Linked DNA regions of Homo sapiens: all the other regions are linked to region 1. Evidence: promoter capture Hi-C in 16 types of primary human blood cells and fetal thymus (Javierre and others, 2016). All regions are on one chromosome and are shown on one strand. Each heading gives the region's core, a stretch centred on a gene start or on the middle of the fragment in contact. The rest is flanking DNA. Distances are from core to core; before and after follow the strand shown.

What was found. The method cuts DNA at HindIII sites, captures the fragments that hold promoters and counts their contacts. A CHiCAGO score of 5 or more calls a contact.
Region 2: a contact is called between a fragment that was not itself captured here and the fragment with the promoter of FLG2 in region 1, in 1 of 17 cell types (naive CD8 T cells). The highest score is 5.7, in naive CD8 T cells.
Region 3: a contact is called between a fragment that was not itself captured here and the fragment with the promoter of FLG2 in region 1, in 1 of 17 cell types (total CD8 T cells). The highest score is 5.3, in total CD8 T cells.

Annotation. Positions count from the first base shown.
Region 1 is chr1:152,357,976-152,362,336 of GRCh38, reverse strand. It overlaps FLG2 (filaggrin 2), which reads left to right and starts at 2,331. Exons shown (of 3, transcript NM_001014342.3): 1 at 2,331-2,381; 2 at 3,431-3,590. The coding sequence starts at 3,453. All of the region lies in intron 7 of CCDST (cervical cancer associated DHX9 suppressive transcript), which reads right to left. The HindIII fragment of the contact is 5,522 bases long and covers 1-4,361 here.
Region 2 is chr1:152,148,602-152,152,962 of GRCh38, reverse strand. No RefSeq gene overlaps it. Among named protein-coding and RNA genes, the nearest start is that of RPTN, 8.4 kb to the left of the region's middle. The HindIII fragment of the contact is 1,913 bases long and covers 1,665-3,577 here.
Region 3 is chr1:152,171,055-152,175,415 of GRCh38, reverse strand. No RefSeq gene overlaps it. Among named protein-coding and RNA genes, the nearest start is that of RPTN, 14 kb to the right of the region's middle. The HindIII fragment of the contact is 250 bases long and covers 2,279-2,528 here.

The DNA.
Region 1 (4,361 bases), core at 1,082-3,581:
GTATTTCTACCTTTAAAAGCCACTAGTAAGTGGCTTCTAACTCATTTTTATCAAACATTATCAAGTACTTTCTTTGTGTAAAATGCTGTGATAGATTGTATGAAATATTTATCAAAATAAGTTTGCAGTAATTATATAGTGTACTAAGAATGTATTATATGCCAGGCAGGTACTAAGCAATTTCATATGTTAAGTAATTGCCACCTGTTAGGTAAGTGTTATTGTTCCCATTCTATAATTTGGGAGACTGAGGCTGAGAAGATTAGATAATTGTACAAGAAATGCAGTAAGAGGCAAAATTGAGATTAGAACTTAGGTCTTTCTGACTATAATTTTATCCATTATGCTAAGCAAGTAGAAGAGGAAGAGAGACCTAAATGCAAAGAATACAAAAGACTGAATAATGGAGTTCTGAACTATGGAGGAGTTTCAGAGTTCTCAACTATAATGCTGGAGTGACAGTGCAAAAATGCTTTAAAATTCTGTCTCAGTGTGGAGTCTGGGGCCTGAAAGTCTTTCTGACACAGCAGCCATCTTAACAAAAATGCACTTCCAAAAGATGCATATGATTGAAAATGACCATAGTATCCAACAGCAACCATAACTTTCTGTGTGGTTGTTTTGGTCTAGGATTCCTTGGCTATGTGAGCAATTGACATATTTCAAGGGCCTATTCATTAACATTTTATGAACAGACACTCATTCTTAGTGTTTACCAAGCTCTAGGTGCTGCCTAGATGGTGGAATGAATAAGATATGATGACTGGCCCAAAGCAATGCCCAGATAGGAGTTTATTGACTCCATATATGTAGAATATATATGGTTAAGTGCTAGGCTTTAGCATCGGCTAGCATGTGTATCTGTTCTAGTGCTGCTACTAACTAGCTGCGATTTGTAACAAATGTTTACATTGCTCTATGCTTTTATTACCTTATCTATAAAATGGGGTTATTTTGAGGAATAAATAGATAAGCATGTAAACCTACCATGTATAGAAGATAGTAAGCACTTAGCACTTAATGGTAGCTGCTATCCTCCTCATCATCATCATTATCACCTGGTAGCAAAGTACAGCAGAATTGGCTCTCCATGCTTAAGACTTACAGCTCTCTGATTATTTTTGTTACCCTCAAGTGTATTTGATATACTTTCTGTACATAAGTGAACATTTTCCCAAGGGTCCAGGCCCTAAACATGCCAGACTACCAGTGGATCGCAGAGTGCTGGAAGAAAGCTCACTCTAAATTCACCCTGAACATATCTGAAAACATTATTTTTATATATAGCCAATTACACTTTTCTAGCCTAGAAATGAGCCTTCACAAGGTCAGAGAATGTTTCCTCTCTTCCTAACAGCACTCTGTATGTTACTTTTTTATATTATTTGCGTTTGAGTGGGCCTTACACTCCTAAAATGGTGCATAATTTTTGCATGATAGTTATATATGATAAATACACAGAGGTAAGTTAGTATAATGGTAAACAGCAATTGCAATAAGGTAGATACAGGTTCAACTTCTGGTTTCTCTGCCTACTAGCTATGACCTTGGAGAAGATCCTTATGCTTCCAGAACCTGTCTCTATAAAATGGGATAATAAATACATATCTCGTATGAAGGTTGTGAAGATTAAATGAGGTGATAAGATCTAGTATTTGGTAACATAATATGGTAACTATAGTTAACTATTTATTGTATATTTTTAAATAACTAAAATAGTAGAATTAGAATGTTCCTACTACAAAGAAATGCTTGAGGTGCTGGATACCCCAATTACTGTAATTTGATCATTACACATGGTATGCCCATATCAAAACATCACATGTACCCAACAATTATATACAACTATGTACCCATAACTAAAAGTGCAGATTTTTTAAAGATTGAGATGGTTTGTTTAAAGTATTTAGCACATAGTAAATTCTCAATAAATGTCACTTTTTATTATTACAAAAAAGACATGAATTAGATGAACCTAGTGGCTCAGGTTCATTTTCAATTAAATAAGCATTTATTGTGCACCTTCCAAGTATCTTACACTCTGCTACTTTCTGTGGGTACTAGTTAAAAGAAATGTATAACATGAGTCCTCTAAAACAAAGTCTGTGCTTTTCACATGTATATGACCCTGAAAAAAAAGGTATCTTGCAACCATGTCCTCGTACTGGAAGGTGGGGCTGGTACTAGCCTTTCTGCAATCATCTGTAGATAACAATGTGAAGGAGGAAGGTAAATATGTAGAGGTGGAGTTAGGTTTGATGGAAAATGAATCACCTCATTCACTATAATCACTATAAGCTATATAAGGGTCATTATCCCAATCCATCGTCACCCTGCAAGCTGCATCAGGCTTTATCCTACTTGTTCCTTTGGTGAACCAGGTGAGAGAAAATTCATCCAGCTACATTTATGAATATTTGGTGTTGTCCATAGTAGAAGTCTAGGGATATAAGCTAAGGCAGAGTTCATGTATATTTTGCCTTTCTTTTCTTTTTTGTTTCTTTCTTTCATTTTCTTTTCTTTTTGTTTGCTTATTTGTTTGGTTAGTTTAGTTTATTCTGGGGCCTTTTTGTAGTTAAGTTCATTTTTATGGAGAAGAATAATGCAAGTAAAAGTTCACCTTCCTCTAGGCCATTCCACAGTCTGTTCCGAGTCTTTTTCCATGCCCTCTTTTCTGGGCTGTCCAGCTCAAACTGGGAGGCAGCTGGGTCTGTTGCAGAGTCCCTTCCTTATTCAGTGTTGGTTCCCAGAGCTCCAAGATCTAATTATCCACTAGTTAAACTGCTGCCTGCATTGCTGAGCTCTTCTTCTTGATTAATTAAAGAAAACAGTGTTTGGTCAAGTGCTTGACATTAAGAGAGTTCCTAAGCTCTACTGAGTTCTACTGTCTCATGCCTATGAAACACCAAGCTATTTTGAGCCCCTTTGCCCATTTTTAATTTGCTGAAGGCCTTAAGGGTCCAGTTTAGCTTCTGGTGCCCAGAGGATAAACAGATGTGCATGGTGGAAGGTCTGTCACTTTTGACTCAAGAAAAGCAGTGAAACTAGAAAGAGAGATTGAGGCAATGGTGTCTGGCTGGTTCTGGAAATTTTGGAAGCCTTAGAACAACACCCAGAATGCCAACACACTCAAAGTGTAGAGATACTATGTAGAGACTATACTTACCCATGACAGGAAATATAGAGACTTGAGGTCTATTCTCAGTTGAACCAGTAACATGCCAAGACTTGATCACAGAAAAGTAACTCAAAGTTAACAAAGTTAATTTTCATTGTGTTAAACGGGGTTGTATCATCCCTGGCCCATTCTTACGTTTTGAGATTTAAAAAACAAGAGGTTAAAAAAATCATGCTGGTTATTATTAAAATGAAAATTGCTGATAAAAGGAGAGAATATGAATAATAGGGTTCTTTGTTTTTCTGTGTCCAGGTTCACTTAAACTTGCAAAAAGATGACCGACCTCTTGAGAAGTGTTGTCACCGTAATTGATGTTTTCTACAAATACACCAAGCAAGATGGGGAGTGTGGCACACTGAGCAAGGGTGAACTAAAGGAACTTCTGGAGAAAGAGCTTCATCCAGTTCTGAAGGTGAGAGCCATGTGCCAGAACTGAAGGCTGCTGGAGTCCTGTACAAGCTCTGTTGTATGACCCAGATCAGCTAAAAAGTGCACAGCCCCAGTGAACTCTAAGCAAACTCTATGAGTGGTATTTTGGGGATGCCAGAAAGTCTGTTAAAGCAGCAGATATTTTAAAGAAAGTGAATGTTTCGTCCTCACTTTTCCACCTATGCACTCCTACCTCATAGACTCTCAGACTTTCTCATACACCCAGGCTTTTCCTTAGAAAAAGCAGAAAATAAAATTATACTAGGACACGAATTAATAAATTATCCTATCAAATGGAAAAAAAAGTATAGAAAGGGAAATCATCTACATAGGGAGTTGACAAAATAGCCATGATTAAGAATCAAAAATAAAATGCCAGCATTTTATTCCATCTACTTAAAAAGGACTCAGCTAGGCGCGGTGGCTCATGCCTGTAATCCCAGCACTTTGGGAGGCCGAAGTGGGTGAATCACAAGGTAAGGAGATCAAGACCATCCTGGCTAATACGGTGAAACCCCATCTCTACTAAAAATACAAAAAATTAGCCGGGCGTGGTTGCATGCCCCTGTAGTCCCAGCTACTCGGGAGGCTGAGGCAGGAGAATGGCGTGAACCTGGGAGGCAGAGCTTGCAGTGAGCAGAGATCGCACCACTGCACTCCAGCCTGGGCTACAGAGCAAGACTCCATCTCAAAAAAAAAAAAAAGACTCAGTTATTAACTTCAAAATAATAGATGATAAATTCCAACATGGAAG
Region 2 (4,361 bases), core at 1,372-3,871, 210 kb after region 1:
TTCTAAGCAGCCTTTCTGGACACTCCAAACTCTGCTTTCTCTAAGTTCACACTCACTTCTGTTATATCATTTGGCCCACACTCTATGGTAATTTTCTCTCCTGGAAAACTAGGAATAAGACCATATCTTACTCAACCTTGTACTGCTCAGCACTTAATACAGCCAGTGATGTCTAGTGGTACCCATTGTTTTTGAATAAGTGGACAGATGGAGGAAATAAGTCTGGCTTTGTAATAAATTCAACTGGACATTAATTGGACATCTACTGCATATAAAACAAAGGGACAAACAAGAGAGACTGAATTAACGCCTCATTTAGTTATGGCTCAAGGAATGAAACAGTAACATTTTTAGGTCTTTTAAACAATAAGGGCTTTACTGCCTAGAACAATAAGGGCTGAATTATTAGAAATTAGAAATCAATCCCTGGGACTATTGAGTTCAATACATCACCAGACTTGCAATCCAAAAATCAGAAACATGTGATTCAGAAGTCTCTGACATTGCTGCCAAAATTGTCTATCAACATGTCTCTATAACCTTATCTGCAAAAAAAAAAAATAGCCAAAATCTTGGTATGATTGTCTCTAACTCACTTTCACCTTCCAAATATCATGCAAATATGCCTAATTTGAAAAACTTTAATTCACATCTAGAACTCTAGCTGCAAAGAAGTCTAGGAAATATAGAAGGAGACAGGAATGGATGCTGAGGGCCATCAGATTGTATTTACCATAGGAAGAATATAATAACTCATAACAACAGCTGCTTTCCTGAAGGAAATAAAAATACAGTAAGACAAATATATACAGCAAACAACCATTATGCAAGGCACAAAGTCATAAGTACAAAAAAATTACTGTTATGACACCAAGGGAGTAAGTAGCTATACCTAGAAGGACTGAGAAAGAGTCCTAAGACGGACTTAGAAGAAAGGCATCTAAGCTAGGACTGTGATCCTGGGGGAGAGAGAAATGCAAAGGGCCATGGCTTGTCCTGGGCCTCAAGATCAACAGGAACGCCCATATGTTGGCTGCTGTTTATATGACATATGTGTTCATGTGTAAGATGAGTCTCCTTCACAAATATTCTCTATAATTTAAACTCTCTCCAGCAAACTAAATGAGAAGGTGGAGAATCAGGGTGAAAGAATTCAAAATCTGGAAGCTGCTCAACATTCAGTGCATCATCTACATGCTAAATCCTTTTTTTTTTTTTCTATCTCAAAATACAAAACAGCCCAAATCCATGATTCTTTTCATCTCTACTCCTGTCATCCCAGTCCAGGTCACCTCTCCTAGAACACAGCTTCCTGATGGGACTCCCCATCCCTTTCAAAAAGGTAGACCACATTGTGCCACTCCCTACATGAAATTCCCAGTAGTTTCCCTCCACATTGAGAATAAAATCCAGCTTTGTTCTCAGGACCTTCCTATAGGATGGGGCCCTGCAAAGTCTCATCTTTCACCATTGTCCTCTGCATCACTGTTTTCTAATCACTCTGGCCTTCTTTCCATGATTCTAGCAGGACAAGCTGATCCCCACCGGGAGACCTTTGAACCAGCTATTTCTTTTGATCAGAATAGTCTTCTTCTCGATCTTGGTGTGGCTCAATCCTTATTTCATTCAGGTCTCAGTTAAAAAGTCACCTCGTGACAGAAGCTTTCTCTGGCATTTATTTTAAAAAAGTATCACCCCAATCAGCCTCTACCATATATTCCTCATTTGTGCTGCCAATGTTCTTAACACTTTTCATGTTTGATACCTTGTTTTTATGCTACTCATTTATTATCTTTTTCTCCCTACTGGAATGTAAGGCCCATAAGAACAAGGATTTTGTTTGTCTTGTTTGCTGCTGTTCTCTTGCATTTCGGACAATAGCTTGTCATGATGTACATCCAATAAATAAGTGTTGGTTGAATGCTCATAGAAGCCCTCCATGATCTGGCTTCAGTGTACATTTCCAACTCAGTTTCCAACAATGCCCCTAGACTCCAACTTAACAGGACAACTTCCTAGCCTCCACGTCATTGCTTATACAATTTCTTCCACTTAAACGCTGTCCTGATCTTTGTCTGCCAAAATCCTACCCATTCTTGGGACTGGCACCACCTTCTGCACCTATCATCAGCATACAGCTTATCAGATTGCATTGAAGTAAATTTTAAACCCATGTGTTTCCCACCAAGCAGTAAGGTCCCAGAAGTCAGAAATTGCATCTTATTCACAGTTGTATATTTCACATCGAGCACAGTGACTGACCAATTACATACATGAAGCTGAGATTTAAAATTTTTAAAAGACTTATATTTAAAACCTGCCTTCACCACTTACCAATTTTATGATCTTAAAAAAAATTGTCTCTTTAAGTCTCAGTTTTTGCATCTGTAAAATGGGGTTTAAAAATCCAGTTTAAAAAACAAAAATTAACAAGTGGAACCTAATCAAACTAAAGAGCTTCTGCACAGCAAAAGAAGCCACAGACAGAGTAAATGGAAAACCTACAAAATGGGAGAAAATGTTTGCAAACTATTAATCCAACAAAGGTCCAATATTCAATATCTATAAGGAACTTAAATCAACAAGAGAAAAACAAATAACCCTATTAAAAAATGGGCAAAGGACTTGAGAAACACTTTTCAAAAGAAAACATACAAGCAGCCAGCCAACAAACATGAAAAAATGCTCATCATTAATCATCAGAGAAATGCAAATCAAAACCACAATAAGATACAATCTCACACCAGTCAGAATGGCTATTATTAAAAAGTCAACAAATAACTGATGCTGGCAAGGCTGTGGAGAAAAGAGAATACTTATACACTGTTGTTGGAATATAAATTAATTCAACCACCATGGTAAGCAGTTTGAAGATTTCTCAAAGAACTTAAAACAGAGCTATATCCCATTACTGGGTACATACCCAAAAGAAAATAAAGACTTCTACCAAAAAGACACATGCACTTATATGTTTATTGCAGCATTATTCACAATAGCAAAGACATGGAATCAACCTAGATTCCTATCAATGGTGGATTGGATAAAGAAAATATAGTACATATACACCATGGAATACTACACAGCCATAAAAAACGAACAAAATCATGTCCTTTGCAGCAATATGGATGCAGCTACAGGCCATTATTCTAAGCAAATTAATGCAGAAACAGAAAACAAAATACCACATGTTCTCACTTATAAGTGGGAGCTAAACACTGAGTACACATGGACATAAAGATGGGAACAATATACACTGGGGACCACTAGAGTGGGGAAGGAGGGAAATGAGTGTACATTGAAAAACTTCCTATTGGGTACTAAGCTCAACACCTGGATGATGGGATTCATACCCCAAACCTCACTGTCACGCAATATGTCTATGTAACAAACTTACACATGTACCCTCTAAAGCTAAAAATAAAAGCTGAAGAAAAAATTCCAAAGTTTAAAAATTCTAAAGTTTCTTAGAGATAAATACAGATGATATATACAAAAGTGATTTATAATCTGATCTCTCCTTGTTCATTTACTTGGTATGCATTATCTTTTCTTCTCCTACATTATTTTAATAGAAGCTTAACAAATACATTTTGATATGATTTGGGTATGTGTCTCTTCCAAATCTCACATTAAAGTGTGATCCCCAATGTTGGAGGTGGGGCCTAGTGGGCGGTATTTGGGTCATAGGGGCAGATTCTTCATGAATGTCTTGGTGATGTCCTTGTGGTAATGAGTGAGTTCTCACTCCATGAGGTCATGTGAGATCTGGTTGTTTAAAAGAGCCTGGGACCTCTTCCTTCTCTCTTTTGCTCTCTCTCCTGCCATGTGACATGCCTGTTTGCCCTTCACTTTCCACCATGACTAAAAGCTTCCTAATGCTTTCACCAGAAGTAGATGCTGGCATCACACTTCTTGTACAATCTGAAGAGCTATGATCCAAAATAAACCTCCTTTCTTTATAAATTACCCAGTCTTTTATTATTTCTTATAACAATGCAAAATGTACTAATACAGAAAATTGGTACTGAGAGTAGGGTGTTGCTATAAAGATACCTGAAGATGTGGAAACAGCTTTGGAACTGGGTAATGGGCAGATACTGGAAGAATTTGGAGGTCTCAGAAAAAGACAGGAAGATAAGGGAAAGTTTGGAACTTCTCCAAGACTTGCTAAGTGGTTGTGACCAAAATACTGATTGAAATATGAACAGTGAAGCCCAGGCTGATGAGGTCTCAGATGGAAATGAGAAACTTTTTGGGAACTGGAGCAAAGGTCACCCTTGTTACACTGTTACAAAGAGCTTGGCTGCTAGGGATCTAAGGAAGCATGAACTTAAGAGTGATGACATAGGGTATCTGGTAGA
Region 3 (4,361 bases), core at 1,154-3,653, 190 kb after region 1:
TTGGGGCTACTTGGAATCAGGGAAGTTCACCAGAAGACTTCTAACTTCTCCCCCAATTTGAGAATCTGTTGCACATGTCACAGACTATAGGTGCTATAATCCAATCAAGACCATCAGTTGGGTGAGCATCTACATCCAGCATACTGGGACAGGATAAAAGGGCAGAGGGTAAAAGAGAGATAGGAATAAAGAAGCTACCCTCAAGGAGCTTGCAGTCAAGTTGACAAGATTAGATTTCCACACAGGGACACTAGGAAGATGGGGCAATTTTAACATAAACTTTTAAAACTGTTTAAGGTCTTTTGAATATAGTCAGTATCTAGGAAATATTGGGTGAAGGAATCTGTGGGTAAATGATACAAAGTGTGGCTGTCTCCATACCAAATAGGAGCTCTGTATGGTTGCAACTGTTAGGCCCATAAGTTCTGGGATCTGACTGCCTGGATATAAATCTCACCACTACTATTTTCTACCTCTATGACCTTGGACAAATAATTTAATCTCTTTTAGCCTTAATTTCCTCATGTATAAAATGAGAGTGATAATATTATCTATCTCATAAGCTTGTTGTAAGCATCAAATGAGAGGATGGATGTAAAGTACATAGCATAGTTTAAAGAGCTCGATAAATATTTGGTAAAAGTGTGATTAATAGAGACACGAAGATAAATAGGAGCCTGAGGAATTACAGAAAGCTTCATGAAGGAGGTGGATCATAAAAGAACATGTATAGGCCAGGCATTGTAGCACATGCCTATAATCCCACTACTTTGGGAGGCCAAGGTGGGAGAGTCACCTGAGCCCAGGAGTTCAAGATCAGCCTGAGCAACATGGCAAAATCCCATGTCTACAAAAAATACAAAAATTAATTGGGTGTGGTGGAGCATGCCTGTAGTTCCAGCTACTCATGGGAGGCTGAAGTGGGAGGATCACTTGAGCTTGGAAGGTTGAGGCTTCAGTGAGCCGTGATGGCGCCACTGCACTCCAGCCTGGAGGAGAGAGCAAACCCTGTCTCAAAAAACTAAACTAAACTAAACTAAAAACATGTGTAGACAGAGTAGAAAGAGGAGTTCAGGCAAGGGAGCCAGACACAAGCTTGGACACTTTGTTTGTTAGGGAGTATTCCAGTTTCCTGGTGAAGCAGCTTTAAGGCCAGTGGTGAAAGGATGAGGAATAAAGGCAGAGTTGGTTCCTGTTGACCTTGCAGATAACTAAAAGCACAGTTAGGATCCCCATGAGGTGCCTTGCCTGAACTGAGGGCCCAGCCACTGCCATAAGCACATCAGTGGAAGGGCCAAAGCCAAGAAAGCCACCCAGGGTACTCTCAGGGGGCTTGCTAGATGTGTGTCACCCTTGTCATCACCATCAGCAGTGGCAGCTGATATTTGTTAAGCGTCTATGAGCAAGGCATTGTGCCAAAGAACGAGGATATATAAGACATTTTATGATTTCAAAGAGATTCTAATTCACTCTAGATAGTACAACAGAGCACATCACAACTCCACTGATACTTTCTGTTAATAGGAAGCATAGGTCTTGGGATCCTGGGGTGCTGATTCCAGCACTGCCTAGCGATGTGCCATTGTGTACATGGGCCTCTATTTCCATTTTACAAACAAATCAAATTTGATATTATAGTTTTCAAACTCTTTGACTGCAGAATCCTTTCCTCAGGGAAAAGCTTCAGATGTTTTAAAGATAAAAGCAGTGAGTTGAATGGGGATAAACAGCAGAATCCTGTCTGCTCAGCTCAGCCCCTGACAGGTGCCAAGGAACACAGTTTGAAAAATACTGGATTAGAGCTAAGCAGTGCTGGTCTGTTCCAGCTTGACGACTCTATATGGAGGTAGATGTTGATCTGAACCAAAGAAGCTCTATGAGATAAGATGTGATCCCCAAGTGCAGGTTGGAGAGAGATTAAAGAACTCGAGTGGTTTTGTTGGGAGTGGACATTGAAGGATGGGTAGATTTAAAGAGATTGAGGGGAGAATGAAACCTACTTCAGAGGACTTACCACCTTACTGGAGATGTGGAAATGCACCCAAGGCTAGGCAAAGAGATCATTTTAAGTAGAGCAGGGGAGTTTTGAAGGGGAGATGGAGTCAGAAATAGAAGACAGGACAGATTATGAAGACCCAGATAGAGAAAGGTGTCCTGCTTCTAAGGCCTCTGGTGCCCCCCCCACCCAGATCAGTGGGGTCTGTGACACAAGAACAAGAGAACTACTGAGAAGTCTGCATCAGTTCCCACTGTGGCTGTGGCTGACAATCATCAAGCTTCCCTGACACCTGTCACATCCCTTGTAAGTTCATCAAGTGCCACATTACTAAGCTCTCTTATCACAAAGTCCTATAAGGGAAAGAGGTGGGGTCCAAAGGACAAGGACTTAACACCCAAGACAATTGTGCCCAAATTTTCCAAACAGTAGCTAGTGTGAGCCTAAGGAGAAACAGAACTATTGCCACAGCGAAATCTGAGAGGCTTAGCAATGTCAGGTAGATCTCCTAATTTAGGAGGCGCTAAAAGCTTTTAAACTACCATCATGTCCTTAATCCTAAAATGCCATTAATCCCCTGTAACACTTCTGCATTCTTATGAGTATGTGGGTGGCAATAGCTATTATCTTCATTAAACTGGGAAGTAGAGGCCAAGGAAAAATCAGTCATGATGTCTAACACAACAAGAAATGTGAGATGGGACTTGAAATCTGAGGAAATATTCAGCAAAGAAAGGAGTGGACAGAAGACAAGGACAAAGGACTGGAAATGAAGAAAAGACAAACTCCAACTGAAGATTCCATCTCAGCTGGGAAGCCTTTCCTAATCACCCTCTAGTAAGAACAATGCCCTGCTCTGAGCTGGAAATGTCCTAATGCAGCATCCCTCACACTGTTGGGTAATAACCATTTACCTATTTCCTTTTTTTGGACTGAAAGGTCCACAGAGTCATGGAGCCTCTCTGTCTTGTTCATGGTGTGTCCCCAGCGCCTAATATTTACTGGGTAAAGGAAACTAGAGAGCCTGGGCCAGGGAAGGAAATGAGACTCAGGAGCACACAGTTAAACATAAATAACCCAGCTGCCCAGGACCAAGGAGGCCTCTGGTTGAAGCCAGAGAGAAAACTTCGCCTCCTTCAGGCCATTATCAAATGTCACCTTCTCAGAGGGGCCTTCGCTGGTCACCTGCCCAGTTACAAATCACAACCTGTCCCTGCCCCCCATTCCACCCACCATCCAGCACTTCCTGTCCCCTTCCCTGTATCTTTCTCACCATAGCACTTGGCACTGACATACACACGTTACTTCTTTGTTTATTGTATGTATCCCCAGCCTAGAATGTAAAAGCTGTATGAGGGCAGGATTTCACTGCTGCAAACTCCATCTCTAGAAGAGTGTCTGATACATAGTCGGTTATCAATAAACATTTGTTAAATGAAGAAACCATAGAATGCATGAACCTTTCTAACCCAAGGTCTATGGTAGTCCTCTAAACTTTTCAAATGTAAACACTTCTGCCAGGGTTTCTTCCCTGTGTCTCCCACTTGTGAAGACCCAGGGGAAATACCAATCCCTTATTCTCCACTCGGTCTCTTTCCAACCCTCCATCCCTCCTCTTTGCTCTTAACAACCTCTGTTCTTTGCCCTCTCACTTCTCTCTCTCATTATGTTGGTTCATAGAAACATCCAAAATGGCCAATTTGACACCAGCCCCATGTGTCTTCAGACAAGAGCCTGCCTCTAACTGAGGCCCCAGGAGCAGAATGCAAGAAAGCTAACGAAACCCCCAAGGCTAAATGGCTAGAAAGGTACCCAGATGTTCCAGAAATCTATGAACAGATTCTTACTTTCCACAAGGCACCACTTCTTGGATCGAGGAATTCCCCTAAACTATGCCCTGTTGTGTAAAATAAAACTTCCTTCCCTTTGTCTTAATCTTACCTTTTTCAAGCCTTAAAAAGATGGGACTTCCTTATTCTAGTATTTTAGGTAATTGTGATTATAACTATATTCATATAATACAGGCCTTTCTTGATCTTATAGTCTTCCACTTAACCTTTTCTCTGCTGTCATCCTCTCTAAATGAAGAGACTTGCTTTTACCACTCAATCCTATCAACAAACATTTACCCACCATGCCAGGCACTGTCCTAGGCACTGAGGCTACAAGGTGCTTACTTTCTAGTGGGGGAGAGAGATAATAAATGAACAAATATGTACTAATTCAAGTGACGGTAATAAGTGCCAAGAAGAAAAATAAAGCAGAGTAGTAGAATGGAGAATTAGTGGGAAAAGTTTGCTATTTACAGGATGGCCAGAAATTTTTCTGATAAGGTGACACTTGAGTAAATACTTGAATTAAATGA